4 separate regions of the Homo sapiens genome follow, and all the other regions are linked to region 2. The links are contacts of gene promoters, found by promoter capture Hi-C in blood cells and fetal thymus (Javierre and others, 2016). All regions are on one chromosome and are shown on one strand. Each heading gives the region's core, a stretch centred on a gene start or on the middle of the fragment in contact. The rest is flanking DNA. Distances are from core to core; before and after follow the strand shown. Region 1 overlaps FAM193A (family with sequence similarity 193 member A). Region 2 holds the start of HAUS3 (HAUS augmin like complex subunit 3). Region 3 overlaps FAM193A (family with sequence similarity 193 member A). Region 4 overlaps FAM193A (family with sequence similarity 193 member A).

What was found. Contacts are between HindIII fragments. The CHiCAGO score rates a contact against its expected background, and 5 or more counts as called.
Region 1: a fragment that was not itself captured here is called in contact with the fragment with the promoter of HAUS3 in region 2 in 2 of 17 cell types (naive CD4 T cells and total CD8 T cells); the score reaches 5.8 in naive CD4 T cells.
Region 3: a contact is called between a fragment that was not itself captured here and the fragment with the promoter of HAUS3 in region 2, in 1 of 17 cell types (M2 macrophages). The highest score is 5.5, in M2 macrophages.
Region 4: a contact is called between a fragment that was not itself captured here and the fragment with the promoter of HAUS3 in region 2, in 1 of 17 cell types (M2 macrophages). The highest score is 9.4, in M2 macrophages.

Annotation. Positions count from the first base shown.
Region 1 is chr4:2,541,246-2,544,366 of GRCh38, reverse strand. All of the region lies in intron 1 of FAM193A (family with sequence similarity 193 member A), which reads right to left. Among named protein-coding and RNA genes, the nearest start is that of FAM193A, 6.2 kb to the right of the region's middle. The HindIII fragment of the contact is 564 bases long and covers 1,351-1,914 here.
Region 2 is chr4:2,240,851-2,244,039 of GRCh38, reverse strand. HAUS3 (HAUS augmin like complex subunit 3) reads left to right here and starts at 1,919. Exons shown (of 6, transcript NM_001303143.2): 1 at 1,919-1,989; 2 at 2,250-2,520; 3 at 2,947-3,189. The coding sequence starts at 3,094. POLN (DNA polymerase nu) reads left to right here and starts at 1,919. Exons shown (of 26, transcript NM_181808.4): 1 at 1,919-1,989; 2 at 2,250-2,520. It also overlaps the pseudogene COX6B1P5. RefSeq lists a silencer at 1,489-1,848 and enhancers at 2,529-2,628, 2,235-2,736. The HindIII fragment of the contact is 3,838 bases long and covers 1-3,189 here.
Region 3 is chr4:2,678,800-2,682,073 of GRCh38, reverse strand. All of the region lies in intron 13 of FAM193A (family with sequence similarity 193 member A), which reads right to left. Among named protein-coding and RNA genes, the nearest start is that of TNIP2, 76 kb to the left of the region's middle. The HindIII fragment of the contact is 2,461 bases long and covers 598-3,058 here.
Region 4 is chr4:2,569,325-2,572,195 of GRCh38, reverse strand. All of the region lies in intron 1 of FAM193A (family with sequence similarity 193 member A), which reads right to left. Among named protein-coding and RNA genes, the nearest start is that of FAM193A, 34 kb to the right of the region's middle. The HindIII fragment of the contact is 8,103 bases long and covers 1-2,871 here.

The DNA of each region.
Region 1 (3,121 bases), core at 383-2,882, 300 kb before region 2:
GCTGGTCCTGAACTCCTGGCCTCAAGTGATTCTCCCACCTCGGCCTTCCAAAGTGCTGGGATCATGGCTATGGGCCACTGTGCCAACCTATATTCTTTATCTTGATATATTTATTACATAGGTGTACACATAGAAAAAATACTGAATCACAGACATGCTCTCTGCAGGTACACCATTTCTAAAGCGTGTATGGTAACCATTTAAACTTTTAAAAGTTAAAATTGTTAATTTTAGTTAAGACACAGGAAGTTCTACATTTTTCTTCAACCTATTTCCTCAGGTCACTAGGCAAATATGAACTAGAGTTAATGATAACCTAATTTCACCGTGGTCGCAATTTCTACAATACAGGGAAGGCTTCTAAGTGCACCCTCATGTACCCCAAAGATCCATAATAATCATACCAGCATGTTTATACAACGATCATACCATCAAAGCAGAGGATACGCTGTATGGTGGCTAATTTTTTGGTTTTTTTTTTTTTTTTTTTTTTTTTTGAGACAATGTCTCATTCTTTTGTGCAGGCTGAAGTGCAATGGTGTGATCTCTGCTCACTGCAACCTCAGCCCTGCACCCCCCACCCCGGGTTCAGGCGATTCTCATGTCTCAGCCTCCTGAGTAGCTGAGATTACAGGCGCTCGTCACCATGCCTGGCTAATTTTTGCATTTTTTAGTAGAGATGGGGTTTCTCCATGTTGGCCAGGCTGGTCTCAAACTCCTGACATCAAGTGATCTGCCCACCTCAGCCTCCCAAAGTGCTAAGATTACAGGCGTGAGCCACTATGCCCGGTCCCTATGGTGGCTAATTTTTATTTTAATTTTTTGTAGAGCAGTGGCGGGGAGGGTCTCTCCACGTCACCCAGGCTGATCTCAAACTCCTGGACTCAAGTGATCCTCCCACCCTGGCCTCCCTAAATGCTGGGATTATAGGTATGAGCTACCAAGCCTGTGGTGCCCTATCATTAAGAAACCCAAGGTAGTGGCCAAATGCAGTGGCTCACACCGTAATCCTAGCACTTTGAGAGGCCGAGGCGGGTACATCACGAGGTCAGGAGATCGAGACCATCCTGGCTAACATGATGAAACCCTGTCTCTACTAAAAATACAAAAAATAAGCTGGGCATAGTGGCACACACCAGTAGCCCCAGCGACCTGGGAGGCTGAGGCAGGAGAATCACTTGAACCCGGGAGGCGGAGGTTGCAGTGAGCCAAGATTGCGCCAGGGCACTCCAGCCTGGGTGACAGAGCGAGACTCCATTTAAAAAAAAAAAAGAAAAGAAAACTGAGGTAGCGCAAGGTTGATACCTTGCCCATGGAACAGAGCCTAACAAATTTGTGGTTCCCCAAGCTTTGTGTATAAGAATTCTGTTTTGAGTCAAAGACCCTATAAGCTAAGTTATGTTTTCCTACTTCTCCCATGGTCCTCCTCCTTTGTTGAAGCTACCCACATGCAGAAACACCCTCTTTGGCTCAGCAGCCACCTCGATGAAGGTGGTCCTGGGTATAACACATAGTGCTGTGTCCCGCACACAGGACAGTGGGACTGTGACCACTCCTGAAAATCAAGACAGTCCTTCCACTCGGCCTTCTCTCTTATCCACCTCCTGGCCTGGTGACTACGGAGTGTAGAGGCTGCTTGCCAGGACTCAGAAAGCCTCCCTGGGAACCATAGGGCCAGAAACCACTCACTGTTTCTGGTTGATACTGTTTTGGGTGCCATTTTGCACCATACAAGGTACTCCAAAAAGCTCACCATCTGTGGGGAAACAATTCAGAGGCTTCAGAATTACATTAAGACTTTCTGTGATCTGTGTCAAGAATATTTTACCCCAGTTACCATAAAGAGTTTCTTTAATGAACAATTATTAAAATACTTACAAAGAAACTTAAAAACTAAAGACAGCTTTAAAAGCTTAAAATATCGGCCAGGTGCAGTGGCTCACGCCTGTAATTCCAGCACTTTTGGAGGCCCAGGCAGGTAGATAGATCACTTGAGGTCAGGAGTTCGAGACCAGCTTGGCCAACAAGGTGAAACCCCGTCTCTACTAAAAATACAAAAAATGGCCGGGCGTGGTTGCTCACGCCTGTAATCCCAGCACTTTGGGAGGCCAAGGCATGTGGATCACAAGGTCAGGAGTTCTAGACCAACATGGTGAAGCCCCGTCTCTACTAAAAATACAAAAATTACCCAAGTGTGGTGGCACATGCCTGTAATCCCAGCTACTCAGGAGGCTGAGGCAAAAGAATCACTTGAACCCAGGAGGCGGAGGTTGCAGTGAGCTAAGATCACCCCACTGTACGCCAGCTGGGGTGACGCAGTGAGACTCTGTCTTGAAAAAAAAAAAAAAATTTGCCAGGTGTGGTGGTGCACTCCTGTAGTCTCAGCTACTCGGGAGGCTGAGGCAGGAGAATCACTTGAACTCAGGAGGAATCACTTGAACTCAGGAGGCAGAAGTTGCAGTGAGCCGAGATGGCGCCACTGCACTCCAGCCTGGGCGACAGAGCAAGACTCTGTCTCAAAAATAAAATAAAATACCATAAAAGATGGTGGCATATTTTAAAAGCTTAAAATACAGTAAAAGCAACTGTCAAGGTGCAGCACACAACTCAATAGTACACAATAGAGAGGCTGCAGTGGGTCACACCCGTAATCCCAGCACTTTGGGAGGCCAAGGTGGGTGGATTACAAGGTCAAGAAAGAGAAACCATCCTAGCCAACATGGTGAAACCCTGTCTCTACTAAAAATACAAAAATTAGCTGGGCGTGGTGGCACGCGCCTGTAGTCCCAGCTACTCAGGAGGCTGAGGCAGGAGAATCGCTTGAACCCAGGAGGTGGAGGTTGCAGTGAGTCAAGATCACGCCACTGCTCTCCAGCCTGGTGACAGAGCGAGACTCTGTCTCAAAAAAAAAAAAAAAAAAGTACACAATGAACTAATTCTGTGGACTATAACCCAGATTTTATTAATGAGATTACATGGAACAGAAAAGATCAGAAAAGTATTAAAATATTTTGTTTGTTTTTTGTTATTTTTTGAGACAGAGTTTCGCTTTTGTTGCCCAGGCTGGAGTGCAATGGCACAATCTCAGCTCATGACAATCTCCACCTCCCAGGTTCAAGCA
Region 2 (3,189 bases), core at 670-3,169:
CTGTCTCTATCTGTCTCTCTGTGTCTCTGTCTCTCTGTCTCTGTCTCTGTGTCTCTGTCTCTCTGTCTCTGTCTCTCTGTGTCTCTCTGTCTCTGTCTCTGTCTCTCTGTCTCTGTCTCTCTGTTTCTGTCTCTCTCTGTCTCTCTGTATCTCTCTCTCTGTGTCACACTCCTCCCACCCAGTCTTTGCCTCATCAGCAACATTTCTGGAAGGCATTGCCTGCACAGCTCCCACTTCCTCCTGTCCAAACTGGCTCAACTCTGCCCCCTGATGCACACCCCCAACCTCCAACCCTGGGCTGCAAGGGTCCTCCCACCAGGCCTCCCCGTTCCAGCATCCCTGGTTTCCTTGCCTGCAGATTGGGCACCACTCTTTGAATTTTTTCCCATCATGTTTGTTTTTCAGATCATTTTAGGCCTTATTGACTTTTAAAAGAGGAGGAAAAAAACGTGAAACAAGTGAAGAATGAATAGGAAATATCTTTGACTCGATCAGATTACAATATTTGCCTTAGAACATTCTTATTTCTCTCCTTAAAAATATTAAGAAAAACTATCCAAACGACTTCTACCTAGTCACCCTGGACTAGGACATTGTCTAACAAGCCACCTTTAGGGTCATTTGACGCTGAAGGGAGGGAGTACTATTATATTTACCCATGACCAAAGCCCCTGCTAACCTGTGGAAGACTGAGGAGTGGCAAAGGATTTTTGTTTGGTAGAGATGCAAACGAATTCTGTCCAATAGAGAGGTCTGGTTTCACTGGGCTGTAGGGCATCAGCCAGATTCACATGAAATTTAGCAATCCCGTTTCAGTCATCTTTCACTGACTGCCATCCTCTTTGGAAATGGTGTACCATCCTCCTTGAGTTAAATATATCGATGTATTTAACTCAGGCCATTCCGTTTATTTCTAACATTTTGAAAAGGGAATTGTGGAGGAAGTCAGCTTTTTTTTTTTTTTTTTTTTTGAGACGGAGTCTTGCTCTGTCGCCCAGGCTAGAGTGCAGTGGCGTGATCTCGGCTCACTGCAACCTCCACCTCCTGGGTTCAAACGATTCTCCTGCCTCAGCCTCCCGAGTCGCTGGGATTACAGGCGCCCACCACCGCGCCCGGCTAATTTTTGTATTTTTTAGTAGAGATGGGGTTTCACCATCTTGGCCAGGCTGGTCTCGAACTCCTGACCTCATGATCCCCCCCCCCCCCCCCCCCGGCCTCCCAAAGTGCTGGGATTACAGGCATGAGCCACCGCGCCCGGCCAGAAGTCAGCTTTTACATAGTGTTCTGGTGAGGGATTAGAAATTAAGTGTTTTTGCAAAATAAAGTTCATTGTAAAAGACTCTAAGCGAACAATCCCTAACCCTTAAAATGTACCAGGCATTGGTCGGGCTGCTGTGAATGTTCCGGGAACTCGTCTCTCTCGGGGGCGAGCGCTATCACCGCCGGGCTCCAGCCTGTCTCCCAACCACCAACCTGCGCTGCTCTTTGTACCATTCAAAAGTGCCTTCAGAGGGTCTAGATTGAAGTACGGGGCAGGGCAGGCCTGAAGCACAACTGACGGCTCCGTTGAGAGCAGGCCCGCAGCTTCAGCTCCCCAGAGGGCGCCCCACCGCACCCCTCTGCACCCCTCTGCACCCCATTCATTGCCCAGGCTCCGCCCCCTGCCCAGGCCCCGCCCCTGTCCAGGCCCTGTCCCCGCCCTTCCCGGCCCAGACCCCGCCTCTCTCTGCCCTGCGCCCCGCCCAGGAGGCAGGATGCCCGCAGCGGCCGGGGGCCGAGCGCCGCCTGCTCAGCTCCACCCCATAGTCCAGCCTCGCCGACTCCGCCTCTTTTGACACTACGCCTGCGCAAACAGTCATCCCCCACGACCACGCCGTCGCCTTGTGCGCTTGCGCGCGTCCAGGCGCTCCCGTGAGGCAGTGCGAGGCGCGCGGGGCACGGAGGGCGGTGGCGGCGGGCTCCTGCGAGAAGCAAGCGGAACTTCCTGAGGTGACTGACGCGGGCCTCGGTTCTGGGCGCAGGGGTGTGGGGCTGGAGGAGTGGCCGCGATCCCCGTCTGCACCCAGGTGCCTCTTTTTTTTCCTGCGCTCCTGGGGGCTCCTTCCAGGTGCTCCAGCAGCTGCCCGGGGATCAGGGCCCGGTCCGCTGGGCGAGGAGCTGGGGCGGGGGCTGTGCGGGGCCTGTCACCCCCGTCTTCTGCAGCTCGGTGTCGACGGCGATTCGGTGGGCTTGTGCGTTTGTTTTGTCAGCGTGCTTAGGTGTCACAGCTGGGTGACCCTCCGAAGGAAGGTTTTGCCGCTGGCGCGTCTGGTGTATCGCGGCCTTGGGGCCGCGGATCCCTGGGGCTTGCCGCTGCCTCTGGGGTTCGCGCGGCCCTGGCGTCGGGGCTGCCTCAGCGCTGGCTGAAGGCCGGCCCGAAGCACCCTTAATTGTGGCCGCGCGCTTCCCTGCTGCTCCTGCTGTTCTCCGCGTCGCGGTGGTGGACTCTGGAGGTGGAGCCTTGCCCGGCGAGACGTTGAGGTAAATATTTAGTTGATCTTCAGAAGATGTGCCATGCTTATTTGCGTCTTCTTACGTACGGAGGGCAGGGAAGAGAGGCTGCCTAGCCTCCTGGTGGCTTGGGTTTGTTTGGATCCATTTATTTTGAATTAAAAACAAATGCTGCTCTATAAAGTGTAATGCATTTTAAACCATTTTATCTTTGGAAAAAAAGATAAAATGGATCCAAATAGATCCACTTTCTTGTTAATTACTTTTCGTTACTGTTGCGGTTTTCTGAGAACTAGCCTAATTGTTTCTGTTTCTCTTTATCATCATCAAACATTGCAGCTACGACTACCTGTCATTTATCCCGCTCTCGGATATCATGTGATATTTGTCTGTGTCTTCTTTTTAAAAACACTGTCGTCATATTTGTGGTCTAATACTTGTTTTCTTCCCCCCTAGGAGGAATCATTATAGATTCTAAAAATATATTTTCCCTTCTCTGTGGACTTGGTATAAAACGTAGCTTTTTTTCTGCTTGGATTTATTTTCTAAAAATCAACACCGTAAACCCATATCAGATACAACAAAATTGGGGTAGTTAAAACCATGAGTTGTGGAAATGAGTTTGTGGAAACATTAAAAAAAATTGGTTATCCCAAAGCTGATAATCTTAATGGAGAAGACTTTGACTGGTTGTTTGAG
Region 3 (3,274 bases), core at 579-3,078, 440 kb before region 2:
GGTGGAGCTTGCAGTGAGCCGAGATCGCATCACTGCACTCCAGCCTGGGCGACCGAGGAAGACTCTGTCTCAAAAAAAAAAAAAAACCAAAAAAAAAAAAACCCTGAGAAGTTAAAAGTAAAGGGATGGAAACAACCAATGGATCAATAAAGAAATTACAAAGAAAAGCAGAAAATACTTAGAGACAAATGAAAACAAAAACATAACATACTGAAACTTACGGGACGCAGTGAAAGCAAGCACTAAGAGCAAAATGTATAGCTACAAACACATCAAAAAACAAGAAAGATCTCTATCAGCAACCTAACTAGGATAGGCGTGGTGGCTCATGCCTGTAATTCCAGCACCTTGGGAGGCTGAGGCAGGAGGACTGCTTGAGCCCAGGAGTTTGAGACCAACCTGGGCAACATGGTGAGACCTCCGTCCCTACGTAAATAAATACATAGACAGACAGATAGATAGCTGGGCATGGTGGCACACACCTGTAGTCCAAGCTACGAGACTATGGGTCAGGAGGATTGCTTGAGCCCAGGAGGTCGAGGTTGCAGTGACCCAAGATCGCACCACTACACTCCAGGCTGGGCAACTGAGTAAGCTTTGTCTCAATAACAACAACAAATAAAATGAAACAAAAAACCCTCCCTAACTTCACATCTTAATGAATTAGAAAAAGAACAATCTAAACCCAAAGCTAGCAGAAGAAAGGTAATTTAGAGCAGAGATTAATGATCAATGAAATAGAGAATAGAAAAACAATAGGGGAAAAAAAAAATCAATGAAACCAAAATATAGTTCTTTGAAAAGAGAAACAAAACTGACAAAACTTTAGTGAGATGGAGTAAGAAAAAAAAAAGACTCAAATTACTATAATCAGAAATGAAAGTGGGGACATTATTATTGATTACACAGAAATAAAAGGGGCTGGGAGTGGTGGCGCACACCTGTAATCATAGCTACTTGGGAGGCTAACACAGGAGAATCATTTGAGCTCAAGCGTTCGAGGCTCCAGTGAGCTATGATCGTGCTACTGCACTCCAGCCTGGGCAACAGAGCAAGCATATCTCTAAAAAGCAGAAAATTAAATTAAAATTAAGAAAAAAACATAAAAGGTATTATAAGAAAGTACTGGCTGGGCTCGGCGCTGTAGCTCACGCCTGTAATCCCAGCACTTTGGGAGGTCCAGGTGGGTGGATCACCTGAGGTCAGGGGTTCGAGACCAGCCTGACCAACATGGTGAAACCCCATCTCTACCAAAAATACAAAAATTAGCCGGGCATGGTGGTGGGCGCCTGTAATCCCAACTATATGGGAGGCTGAGGCAGGAGAATCTCTTGAACCTGGGAGGCAGAGGTTGCAGTGAGCCAAGATGGTGCCATTGCACTTCAGCCTAGGTGACAAAGCAAGACTCCGTCTCAAAAAAAAAAGTAAGTAAGTATTGGCTGGGCTTGGTAACTCATGCCTATAATCCCAGCACTTTGGGAGGCTGAGGTAGTAGGACTGCTTTAGCCCAGGAGTTTCAGTCCAGACTGGGTAACATAGTGAGACCCTGTCTTCTCTCTGGAAGAGTCCAAAACAATAAAAAAAAAATTAGCTGGGAGTGGTGGCACATGCCTGTAATCCCAGCTATTGGGGGGCCAAGGGAGGAGGAATGCTTGAGCCCAGGAGTTTGAGGCTGCAATGAGCTATGATCATGTCATTGTACTCCTGCCTGGGTGACAGAGTGAGATGCCGTTTCAAAGAAAAAAGAAAGTATTACGAACAACTGTACACCAACACACTGGATAAAACAGATGAAATGAAAAAATTTTTAGAAACACAAAACCTATCAAGACGAAATCATAAAGAAATAGAAAAGTCTGAACAGACCTGTAACTAGTAAGGAGATTGAACTGGTAATCAAAAACCACCCAATAGGCTGGGCGCAGTGGCTCACGCCTGTAATCCCAGCACTCTGGGAGGCCAAGATGGGTGGATAACCTGAGGTCAGGAGTTTGAGACCAGCCTGGCCAACATGGCAAAACCCCGTCTCTACTAAAAATACAAAAATTAGCTGGGTGTGGTGGCATGTGCCTGTAGTTCCAGTTACTTTGGAGGCTGAGGCCAGGGAATCGCTTAGAATCTGAGAGGCGGAGGTTGCAGTGAGTGGAGATTGTGCCACTGCATTCCAGCCTGGGTGACAGAGCAAGACTCCGTCTCAAAGAAAAAAAAAAAAATCACCCAATAAAGAAAAGCCCCAAACCTGATGGCTTCACTAGTCAATTCTACCAAATATTTAAAGAATTAATACCAATCTTTCTCAAAGTTTCCAAAAAACTGAAGAGGAGGGAACACTTTCTAACTCATGTCCTGAGCATATCCCCATACCAAAGCCAAAGACACTGTAAGAAAAACTACAGGGTCGGGCGCGGTGGCTCACACCTGTAATCCCAACACTTTGGGAGACCGAGGCGGGTGGATCACCTGAGGTCGGGAGTTCGAGACCAGCTGACCAACATGTAGAAACCCTGTCTCTACTAAAAATACAAAATTAGCCGGGCCTCGTGGTGCATGCCTGTAATCCCAGCTACTCTGGAGGCTGAGGCAGGAGAATCACATGAACCCGGGAGGCAGAGGTTGCAGTGAGCCAAGATCACACCACTGCACTCAGCCTGGGTAATGAGCAAAACTCTGTCTCAAAAAAAAAAAAAAAAAAAAAAAAGAAAGAAAACTACAAACGAGTATCGCTTGTGAACATTCATGCAAACATCCTCAACAAAATACTAGCAACCTGAATTCAGCAGCATATTAAAAGATTCATACACCATGACCAAGTGGGACTCATTCCCAGAATGCAAGGATAATTCTATGTATAAAAAGTAATCAATGTTAATATGCCACATTAACAGACTGGAAAAAGCCAAAGATCATCACAACTGGTGCAGAAAAAGCATGTGACAAATTCAACACCCATTCATTACAAAAACACCCAACAAACTAGGAATAGAAGGAAAACTACCAAAACATAATAAAAGCCATATATGAAAAACCCACAGCAAACAATGGTGAACGAATGAAAGCTTTTCCTTAAATAACAGGAACAAGGCAAGGATGCCTGCTTTCATCACTTCTCTTCAACACAGTATTAGAAATTTCAGCCGGAGCAAACAGGCAAGAAAAAGAAATAAAAGGCATCTAAACTGGAAAGGAAGAAGTAAAATTATCTCTGTTTGTAGATGATATGATTTTACAATGTAGAGAACTCCAAAGATTCCACAAAAACAGTCTGTTAGAATAG
Region 4 (2,871 bases), core at 82-2,581, 330 kb before region 2:
AACCACACCCAGTTTTTTTTTTTTTTTTTTGGACACAGAGGCTGGCCTTGTCGCCCAGGCTGGACTGCAGTGGTGTAATCTCGGCTCACTGCAACCTCCGCCTCCTGGGTTCAAGTGATTCTCCTGCCTCAGCCTCCTAAGTAGCTGGGATTACAGGCACATGCCACCATGCCCAGCTAATTTTTTGTATCTTTAGTAGAGATGGGGTTTCACCATGTTGGCCAGGCTGGTCTTGATCTCCTGACCTCATGATCCACCAGCCTCAGCCTCTCGAAGTGCTGGGATTACAGGCGTGAGCCACAGCGCCTGGCCTTTGACCAAGATTTAGAAAGTAGTAAACAAAAAGTTCTGGTCTAGGCAGAGCGCTGTGGCTCACACCTGTAATCCCAGCTCTTTGGGAGGCTGAGGCCGGTGGATCACCTGAGGTCGGGAGTTCAACACCAGCCTGGCCAACATGGCGAAACTCTGTCTCTACTAAAAATACAAAAATTAGCTGGGCTTGGTGGCACGCTCCTGTAATCCCGCTACTTGGGAAGCTGAGGTGAGAGAATCGCTTGAACCAAGGAGGCAGAGTTTGCAGTGAGCCAAGATCATGCCACTGCACTCCAGCCTGGAGGACAGAGCGAAACTCTGTGTCAAAAAAAAAAAAGTTCTGCTCTAGAATTTCACTCTACACATACCTCTCAAAACCCTTTTCCACAAAGACATCTTTAAATAAAATAGGACTTCTACCTCAGAAGCCATTCACTTCCAAAACCCTAGTACAAATCTAAATTTTTTATACATAACCAAACAGAAGTTCACTGTGCCAACAAGTACCAGTCTCCGAGCTGCTGGCAAGGTGGTGCCACATCTGCCTGGTACTCTAGAACCTGCCCTCTCCTCCAGGGCTCAGAATGGATAATTAATCCATGGGGTACAGGGCAGCCTGTACAATACAGCTGTTCTCTTCAGGACCCACAACAAGGCCTGTCATAAAAACATAATTTGGTCCACTTACGGGAAATGTGAACTAAAGACAAAGCAACACTGCCAGTAATACATCATTGGAAGCTGCCAGGAGGAAGGGCTGGGGCCGCGGAGGGAGTCACTAAAGAGCAGAGCCTATGGGTAAGGTGACAAGGCAGGAAAGAGGCTCTGCGAAGTCCCCCATAGGGAGAGAGCCACAGCACAGACAGCTGCCCACACCCCCACCCACTCCGTAAGCGAAACTGAGTGTGTGAACCCTGAATACAACAGGCAGAGGTAGGGGAGGAAGTGTACGGCAGAAGAGAAATAGGCCCTGTGTGTTCGGTACTCAAAGTGCTTGACTTACTACCCAGGATACATGACCACCTGAGTAAGGCCCATCTGTGAGTGAGACTTGCAGTAAATACGCATTCTCCTAAATCACAAAAGCTCCCAGGCCGGGGAGTGGGGCCTGAAAACTAGCCTAGCCCTGATCTGAGGAGGAGCTCACCAAGGCCTGTACCCATGGGGTAACTGGTCCCCCTACAGAGACACTGTCTCCTAAACTGCCCACAGCCTTGCACCTAGACATGGCAAGGCTTATTTCCTGTGTCACTATGATGGGGAGAAATGAGTTCCCATTATTCCAGTCAAGAGAGCAGGCTAGAGGGCCCTTTACTGCTGTGTCCTATAACGAAAGATGTGGCATGACCTCTGCAAGGAGGGTAACAGTTCATGGAACCTTGGGAAAAGTTAAAGATATATGGAGGAAAAAAACATAAGGAGATTTGGTTTATTTCAGTATCTCCTGAGCCATGTCACCAAAGCTCACTGCAGCGATTTAGAGTTGCTTCTTTAGCACAGAATGACTCTCTGAACTTAGATTCAGAGTTAGGGTTACCAAATCCACAGTAACTCATAGAATGTACTGCTTTCTTACAAACAGAAGATATCTGAACACACTGAATTCAACCCTGCAGGGAGACATAAGGGTACCATGATTTGTTCAAGGAAGTACAGATTCAAACCGGCCCAATGAGTTTAACTAATGGCATGTGGAGACTACGAACATTCACTACTGTCCAGAATCCCGGATTCTGAAGTACTTTTGGGCTATTTAGCAGTTCAGTCACAATTTCAGAAGATACCCAAAAGTGAAGAAAAGTCATACTCTCAGTTTCTGTAACTTATTAGATGTGAAAACCTCCAGATGTATTTGACTTATCCAGCATCTGACCCTAACAGTGTGGTTCAAACTTCAAGAGCATCTGAATGAGACGAAATCAAATTATGGTCCCCCTCAACAATTTGCCATCCTAAAATTCTAGAGATAAATATATAAATCCCAGAACAATCTAAAAATCTGTAACTTTGTGACCAAATTCCAGGTAATACTGGAGTCCAACCAATTATGAAAACTTATTTTATTTTAATGGAATTAGCAGCTGGGTGCAGTGGATTACAATCATAATTCTAACACTTTGGGAGGCCGAGGCAGGAGGATCACTTGAGCCCAGGAGTTCAAGACCAGCCTGGGCAACACAGCAAGACCAGCTTTTAAAAATTTTTTAAAGTTTTAAAAATTAACCGGGTGTGGTGGTGCATGCCTGTGGTCCCAGCTACTCGGGAGGCAGAGGCAGGAGGATAGCTTGAGCCTGGGAGATTGAGGCTGCAGTGAGTCATGATCGGCCACTGCACTCCGGACCGGGTGACGGAGAAGACCCTGTCTCAAAAAGAATTTGTTTTAATAATAATAAAAATGGCAAATAGCACCAAACTCACATCTGCACAACTGTGCTTAAATATGACAATAAAATAAATAGGATTCGATAAACTACCTTTGGGCTGCTTTTGTATTACTGCTAAATAAAATCCAATTTTTGGAAGGTTATATTCCACCACTGTTAGCAACAGAGTTTCCAT